Linked DNA regions of Homo sapiens: region 1 is linked to region 2. Evidence: promoter capture Hi-C in human tissues and cell types (Jung and others, 2019). All regions are on one chromosome and are shown on one strand. Each heading gives the region's core, a stretch centred on a gene start or on the middle of the fragment in contact. The rest is flanking DNA. Distances are from core to core; before and after follow the strand shown.

What was found. Contacts are between HindIII fragments. The study calls those that stand out against the background at their distance.
Region 1: a fragment that was not itself captured here is called in contact with the fragment with the promoter of SYT6 in region 2 in 1 of the 25 tissues and cell types used here (pancreas).

The regions. Positions count from the first base shown.
Region 1 is chr1:112,776,740-112,780,913 of GRCh38, reverse strand. No RefSeq gene overlaps it. Among named protein-coding and RNA genes, the nearest start is that of NUTF2P4, 31 kb to the right of the region's middle. The HindIII fragment of the contact is 4,043 bases long and covers 1-3,376 here.
Region 2 is chr1:114,152,619-114,156,927 of GRCh38, reverse strand. SYT6 (synaptotagmin 6) reads left to right here and starts at 3,059. Exons shown (of 8, transcript NM_001253772.2): 1 at 3,059-3,318. The coding sequence starts at 3,156. RefSeq lists a silencer at 47-341 and an enhancer at 1,271-1,884. The HindIII fragment of the contact is 10,069 bases long and covers 1-4,309 here.

The sequences.
Region 1 (4,174 bases), core at 106-2,605, 1.4 Mb after region 2:
CTCAGAATGTATTAAGTAGAAGGAAGAGATGGTCCTTTGAGCCCTCCAGCAATAGTCTCCAAGCAGCAGAGGTAGGAAGAATAGGCAACTGAGTTTGGATGTCTCTAGGCCTAAATCCAAGAAGGCCTTCTTTTTTTTTTTTTTTTTTTTTTGAGACGGAGTCTCGCTCTGTCACTCTGTCACTCAGGCTGGAGTGCAATGGCACGATCTCGGCTCACTGCAACCTCCGCCTGCCAGGTTCAAGCGATTCTCCTGCCTCAGACTCCTGAGTAGCTGGGATTACAGGCATGCATCACCATGCCTGGCTAATTTTTGTATTTTTAGTAGAGACGGGGTTTCATCATATTAGTCAGGCTGGTCTCAAACTCCTGATGTCGTGATCTGCCCACCTCGGCCTCCCAAAGTGCTGGGATTACAAGCGTGAGCCACCGCGCCCCGCCAGGCCTTCATTTTTCATCTTACATCCCTTCTGCTGTCTCCAGCCCCTCCAGTAAAGCTTGACTCAGATTTCCTTAGACACAAATTAATTTGTTCTGAGAGGAAATAATGGATCGTTGCGTTCCCTTTGTCATCCTGGCTCCCTCCACGGCTCCCACTTGCTTCCTCCACACATAGAAATGAAGGGACAGAGGGGGATAGAAACCAGCCTGCAGATAGGCTGCTACTGACCTGAACGTTCCTTATTGAAATCTCCCCTCCAAATGTGGCTTTGGGGCTGAAAGATTTGGGGATAGAAAGCTTGCCGAAGCCTCTGATGAAATTCAAACAGCTGTGGGAGGTGGCTTTAACTGGACATGCTGAATAGGAGCCATTAATAATCCAGCATTTCATTAGGCAGAGCCAGATGTTGGGGGTAGTGGGAGGGGCGTGCTGTGAAGCAGGAATGACAAGAGATTAGCCACTTCTTTTTCAGGAGTGGGAAGCACAAGCTTCCAGGTACAGCAAGAAGAGTCCAGGCAGAGTCAGGAGCATGACTATGGGTACCCCTGTCCAGATAGTCAAAATCCTTAGCTAGAGAAGCTGAATAACCTACTGATTCATACATCCGCTGGCCAAATCTTTGCTGTGTACAGACCAGCAACCAGGCACAGTACTCAGTGCTAGGAAGCAAGGTCAATGAAACACAATCTTTGTAATCAAGGGACTTATAGTCTAGGAGAGGAGACAGACAGGTTAGCTAATGAGTGAATAGAATATCATAAATCTATCCTGAAAGGCTGTGTAGTGCACAGTGAGGACACAGAAGCAATGGCCAGTTCTACTCGGGATGTCTGAGATGTTACAGTTTAAGAGGGTGAGGCTTGAAAGATGACTAGGGTTTGCTAGGCAGAGAGGGAGGAGAAATGTCCCAACATTAATAACAGTGATATCTGCAACATTTACTGAATGCGTATGCCAGGTGTGACTGTAACAGCTTTAATTATATATGTGTGTGTGTGTGTGTGTGTGTGTGTATGTTTTGTTTTGTTTCGTTTTTTTAAGATGGAGTTTCACTCTTTCGCCCAGGCTGGAGTGCAATGGCATGATCTCGGCTCACTGCAACCTCCGCTTCCTGGGTTCAAGCGATTCTCTTGCCCCAGCCTCCCGAGTAGCTGGGACTATAGGTGCCTGCTACCATGTCCAGCTAATTTTTGTATTTTTAGTAAAGATGGAGTTTCACCATGTTGGCCAGGCTGGTCTCAAACTCCTGACCTTGTGATCCGCCTTCCTCAGCCTCCCAAAGTGCTGGGATTACAGGAGTGAGCCACTACACCTGGCGATATATTTTCTTCATTTAGTGTTCACAGTGACCTACACAGTAGATTTTATTATCTTTGTTTTGCAATTGAAGAAACTAGGGCCCAGAGTGGTTAAGAAACTTGCCCAAGGCCAGTTTGGGGAACTGAGGTGACATAGTGGGACTTGAGAAGCCAGAAAAGTGGGCAGAATCTGGGCATGAAAGGCCTCAGCAGTTTTGCTGAGCAGTGTGGATTTTACCCTGCTGGGCAGGGAATGGCAAGACCTGATTTCTGCTTTCCAAGATCACTTTGGCAGCTATTTAGAGGTGGAATTGGAGGCAGCAAGGCAAGGAGGCCAATTAGACGGAAATGTTAATGGTCCATGGGAGAGACCATGAGCTTAACACTAAGTCACCGACATTAGCAATGGAGAAGACTTCAACACTAGAAGATAAAATGGGCAGGAATTTCTGGCCGCCCAAAGGACAGAAGAAAATGCTTTGTAGAGTCACACAGAGCTGAATTTGAGTCCTAATCATGCCGCTTACCAGCCGTGGGCAACTAGTGCTTTTATAGTCTCTCCATATGTAAAATAGAGAAAATAATATAAGAGGTGATCCCACTAGATTGCATAACTCTCCATCATAATTTTCCACTTGAGTGTGAGCTCCTTGAGGGCAGATACTGTGCCTAAATAGTCTTTGTACTGCTAGCACCCAGCACTGTGCCTGGATCCCACTACATGCCCAGTGCTGCTTCTGTGAATTACCATGAAATGGTTAGGGCTGAGCAAAGGGAGGACTCAGGATGACATCAGGTTTCTGCCTTGGCTGACTGGTGGGTGGTGCCATTTACTGAGACAGAGGGTGTGGAAGGAGTAAGGCACATTAGAGGGGGAGGATCATGAGCTTTGTTTTAAACAGAAATAGGTAGTGGTGGTTACTGTGACAAGAGTCAAGGGAACAGTCATGGGAGTGAGCAGGTAGCTGAGAAGGAGTAGGAAGCTTTAAAGTGTTGGAGAAGTTGTCCATACGGATGTTGAACTTTCTTTTTTCTTTTTCTTTTTCTTTTTTTTTTTTTTTGAGACAGAGTCTCGCTCTTCGCTCTGTCACCCAGGCTGGAGTGCAATGGCTCGATCTCGGCTCACTGCAACCTCCGCCTCCCGGGTTTAAGCGATTCTCCTGCCTCAGCCTCCCGAGTAGCTAGGACTACAGGCACCTGCCACCATGCCTGGCTAATTTTTGTATTTTTAGTAGAGATGGGGTTTCACTGTGTTAGCCAGAATGGTCTCGATCTCCTGACCTCATGATCCACCCACCTTGGCCTTCCCAAATGCTGGGATCGCAGGTGTGAGCCACCGCGCCTGGCAGATATTGAACTTTCTTAAGACAGTCACTCATTATCTTTCACCTCAACATGTGAAAGTGTCTTCCTAATGGCCTTCCTTGACTTGCTGCCTCCAATTCAGCCTCTATACTTCTGCCAAATTGATCTTAAGAAACAGAAACCAGGTCATGCCAGAACCATGTGGACTCTGGAAAGCACTGAAGACTATGAATAATATGCTGCTATTTTGTATAAAAAGTTAGAGGAGGTATTGTGGATTGAATCGTGTCCCCCAAAAAGATATGTTCAAGTCCGAGTCCCCAGTACTTGTGAATATGACTTTATTTGGAAATAGAATCTTTGCAGGTATTATCAAGTGAAGATAAGGTCATCCTTGATTAGGGTAGGCCCTAATCCAACGACTTGTGTCCTTATGAGAAGAGGGACATTTAGACACAGAGACACAGAGACACAGAGGAAGGCCAGGTGATGAAAGAGGCTGCAAACCAAGGAACACTAAGGGTTGCCAGCAACCATCAGAAATTAGGAAGAGGCAAGGAAGGATTCTTCCCTACAGCCTTCGCAGGGAGCACAGCCCTGCCAACACCTACATTTCTGACTTCCAGCCTGCAGACTTATGAAAGAATAAATTACTATTGTTTTAAGCCACTCAGTTTGTGGTGCTTTGTTATGGCATCCCTAGGAAAATAATAGAGAGGAAGATAGGAATACACATATATAATTGCTTATATGTTCCACACTCAATAATAGAAGAACCAACTAGCTGTTGGCTGATCTAGGTTAGCCATGCTGGACTGACTGGGTGGACTCAGATCTGCTCCACTTGTCTCCAGCAGGTCTATCCAGGTGTGTTCTCCAGGTGTTGGTGGAGGTACAAGTTAATAACTAGAAATAGCAAAGGATCCTTAACGCCTGGGCTTGGAACTGGCACACCATCACTTCTGCTTCATTCTATTGGCCGAAGCTTGGCACAAGGCCAGCCCAGACTCAAGGGTTGGTAAAACAGACTCGACTTCTTTAGTGAAAGACTGAAAAAGGGTATAGATGCAGAAAGAGGTGAAGAATTAGGGCCACTGATGCAGTCTATCACATTCATGTACATATATACA
Region 2 (4,309 bases), core at 1,810-4,309:
GGCTGCCTCCCTCCTCCCTTTGCCCCAGCCTCCTCTTTTCTCCCTCATGTAAAATCCTAGAGTGCTGTTGCTGGAAGGAGCCTCAAAGAGCTCCTAATCCAACTTCACATAGGCACACTGAGCCCCAGATAGGGGATGTGACAGCCTCGTGGCTGCTTTGGTGCACCAGCCCTGAATCCCAGCCCTCCCAGGCCCTGTCCAATGTACTTATTTGCCACCACTCCATGCTTAACTGTCTCTGCTCCTGCTTCTCTCCTCCCCACCCCTAAACCCAAACTCAGAATGGGATTTCTCTGAGAGATAGAATTGAAGGGCAACAATTCCACTTCTTTCCACCTCTTTCCCTCTCTGGGTTTGAGTGGGACCCTGGATCCTCCCTCCCAGCTCTTGGTGGGACCCTGGGACTCTGAATTTTATCTCTTCATATGGGAAGAAGCAAAGGTGTGTTTGGGGGTTGGGTTTGCAGGGCAAAGGGGTTTGAGAGACAAAAAAGTTTCCATCATTACATGAAGAATTTTTCTGCTTTGTGGCTGGTTATGTGACCACAGTGGTATCAGCAATTGACCTGGGGGCTGGGGGAGGTAGCGGGCTAAAGAGGACAACTAGGGTGAGGCTTTACCTTAATGTCTCCTTCTGAATGTGTGTTTCTTTACCTGTACATCTGTCTCCCTGTCTGTTTCTCTGTTCTCTATTTCCTATAACTGTCTCTCTGTATCTCTGTCTCATCCTCTGTCTCTCTCATTTGTATCTGTCTCTTGCCTCTATTTCTGTCTCTGTTTCTTTCTCTCTGTCTCTCTCATCTCTGTCTCTCCCACACACGCTAACTCCTACAATCCAACTTCAATAGCTATTGACTGACCCAGGGGCCCTAACCTGTTTCTGCAGCCCTATCAGGGCAGCAGCTCCTTCACACTGCTAGATTGAGAAATGCCAGGTCCGGAGCTGCTGCCGGGGCGCCAGAGACGCTGCAGAAGCGCCTGCCGAGTGTGGAGGCTGAATCCAGGAACAATGAGAAATTATCTGTTAATTCTCGGCTCCTGCCACCTGCTCTGCTCCAAACAAGCTCCTTTGCCTTCAGTTTAGATGCAAATTCCCCCACTCGATGTAAGCAAAATATTGATTTCCCTGCATCACAGGTCTGGGCCCTTGGAATGGTCCTGTGTTTTTTCATTCTCTGCAAAGGCAAAACAAGGTGCTTTGTTCTGTGAATTTCCCCCAGGAACTCGCGAGGGGGAGGGAGAAATAGCAGGGGAGTGACAGAGTTGCCATAAACACGGGCAAAGAGCAGTTCTCCATTTGTATTTTACATAAACACAAACCTGCCACTTGGGAAACTGCTAATAAGCGTTTAGCCAGAGGCTCTTCTGGGTGCTGAGATCTGCATCGGGTGATGGAAAAGAAATTAATGGGGCCTCTAGGCTCCTCAGGTGGGTTTTCAGAAGCACCAGGAAGGCGCATAGGGATGCCAGAGCCCCACTTGTTCTTGGAACAGCAACCAAACACCTCCAGCAGGAAGGCAGCCCGGATTGCACAGTATCGCCTGCGTCGTGTCTGCTTGGTCCCTGCCTGAGTTCCTAGCCTTCTGCTATCACAGGCACAGGGGTCAGGGTGGAAGCTGCGAACCTTCAACAATTGCCTCTCCCTCGTCCCCTAAACTTATGCCCACGCGATGGTAGCACCAACTGGGTCTTCAGCACCGTGGACAGAGCCAGGGGGCGCCTCACGGTGGAAAAGCCGCCTGGCTGGGCCAGGGTCCTCACAGGCCTTGCCTTAGCCCTTGGTGCCCCAGGCACCAGCTGCTAGGGGATCGCAAGTCCAAGGGCCGGTTGGCACAGATGGCGCGCAGTGGAGACCGCCAGGAGCTAAGGCTCCGAATCTCCTCCCTCCGGAACGTGAGTCACTGCCCGAGTCACTTCCAATAAGCGTGTTAATTAAGAGGCAAGACCTTTCTCCCTCGCCAGCCACTCGGGCATACACCAACCCAGCAGCCTCCAGGGGCTGCAGCTAAAGCTTCCTTCCCAGCTCCGGGAGAGCAAATGGACCTGAGTCTGGGGCTTCAGGCGAGCCCCACACAGAAGGGGCCCCACCGCCGACAGGTGTAGATCAAGAGACTCCCGAGATAGGCCCCTGCAGGGCGCTGGTCCCCCGGCCTCCCTGACCATGGCTCACAGACTTCCAGCGCTGAGTGAGGCAGCTCGAAGCCTCTCAGCCGATCTGTTCCTGGGCCTCACTCCACAGTTTCTGAGGGGATCTCTACTTTAAGTCTAGCCTCAATCCTCCCGTTGAGCTTTCTGTCTTTCTTGTTATGCTTAGCAGAAAGATACATGATCTCTGGTGCTGTTTCACCGAAGCAAGGAGGTGGGTCGGCGGAACTGAGCGCCCTGCGCCCTCTTGAAATGACCCCCCATTCCTGTTTGCCAGAAACTTTTCCCTCCCGTTGCCATGGAGAGAGACGGCCGCTGCCTCCCGTCGCCATAGCAACATGCGGGTACCGCGGACCGCAGGATTGCGGAGCTCGGAAAGTCTTGCAGTTCGCATCGCCCGCCTGTCTTGGGGTCTTCTACCTCCGAAGCTGGGACTCGGGGGCCAGTCTAACTGCTCCCGTCAGGAACCTCGGCCAAGGTCCTCCCAGACCCTGCCTGACCGTCGCTCTTTCTGTTACGGGGTTATCTATTTCTCTGTCATTCGTGTGGCATGTGGCAGTTTACCCAGTGTTTTCACAAACACGATCTTTCTATCCCCAGGGAGTCCGTGAAGTACTTAAAATCATTACACCTCCTTTACGGAGAGGAAAATTGAGGCTCAGAGACGCCCAAGGTCACACCAGGCAGTGAATGCGGAGTGGGAACCCGGACTCTTTCCTGGCCTTGCACCCTCCGAGATTCGGGACAGCCCGGCTTCCCGCCTCGAAACCCCCACCCCCCGGACTCAGGCCAGTCCCTGAGTGTAGAGGGGGCGGCCGCGAGGCGCCAGACTCGCCAGCTGCCGCGGGATGCCACGTGAGGGGCGGGGACCCTGCGGGGAAGTGATTAAAAGCAGAGCGGAGCCGCAGGGGGCCGCTGCAGGGAGGGTCTTCTTGGGGCCGTCGTGCCCCGCCCCAGTGCGGCCGGGGCGCGGGTTCGAGCTGCTGCTCGGCAAGCCTGGGTGTCTAGGGCATGAGCGGAGTGTGGGGGGCCGGCGGGCCTCGGTGCCAGGAGGCGCTCGCGGTCCTCGCCTCGCTGTGCCGGGCCCGGCCGCCCCCTCTCGGGCTGGACGTGGAGACTTGTCGGAGCTTCGAGCTGCAGCCCCCAGAGCGGAGTCCCAGCGCGGCAGGCGCAGGTAACGGGAGACCCAGGGCCCCCTCCCTTCCTGGATATCCGTCCTGCGATCTCCCTTCCCCAAAGCCCCGGTCCCAGGAGCCCCAGAACCTAGAGAGAACTCCCCAGCTCGGGATTCTGGATTGGGAGCCAGCCTCGTCCAGCCCTCTGGCCCATCGCTTGCACAGCCAGGAGAGACCCGAAGGGGAGCGGAGGTTGGGGTAGAAGCCCCCGGCCCTCCTGTATTACTACTGCGGAATGCGGGGGACCCCGCAGACAGCCAGGCTCCCAGGACGGGGCACCCTTGGGGCTTCAGTTTCCCTCGCATCTCCAAGCTCGCTCTGCGGGCGATTTGCCAGGAGAGGGGTCCATGGAGAGAGCGGGAGACGAGGGGCGCCCGGCTGAGGAATAGGGCTTGCCTCCTAGCGAGTGTCGAGGTCCCCGGGTCCGTGCGTCGGTCTGTCCGTCCGTTTGTGTGTTCTCGCGGTGAACGCGGGCGGACCCCCAGTCTCTCCGGGAGAAACTTGGGTCTGCGGCTGGCACGAGGTCTTTGTGTCCGGGTGTCTCTCCGGCTGCGAGTGGTTTTCCGCGTCTCCGCTGGGGGGCGGGGGACAGGGGGCGGGGTGGGGGAGGGTATGAGGGTGTTGCGGCGTCCTTCCCCCACCCCCTCTCGCCCCTATAACTCGCTCCCTCCGTCCCTCTCGGACTCGGACTCGGGGCCGGTGCGCGACTGAGCTGGCGCCTCTAGCCGACTTTGCCAAGAGGGCGCCTCCTGCCCGATCCGCGCTGACCCTGCGCGGGACGCAGCCCCAGGCGGCTGCCTAGCCGAGGCGGGAGCCCGAGCTGAGTCGAGCTCGCCGGAGCGGGTGAGTCCCGAGCCCGATCCCCGCCGGGCTGGACCCTGGCGCGCAGCTGCGGCGTCTCCGGGGAGTCGCGGCAGGGGGAATGGCGTGTCGCGCCCTGGCGGCGGGAGCTGCGGGAGGGTCGGCGACGTGGCGGCCGGCCCAGGGTAT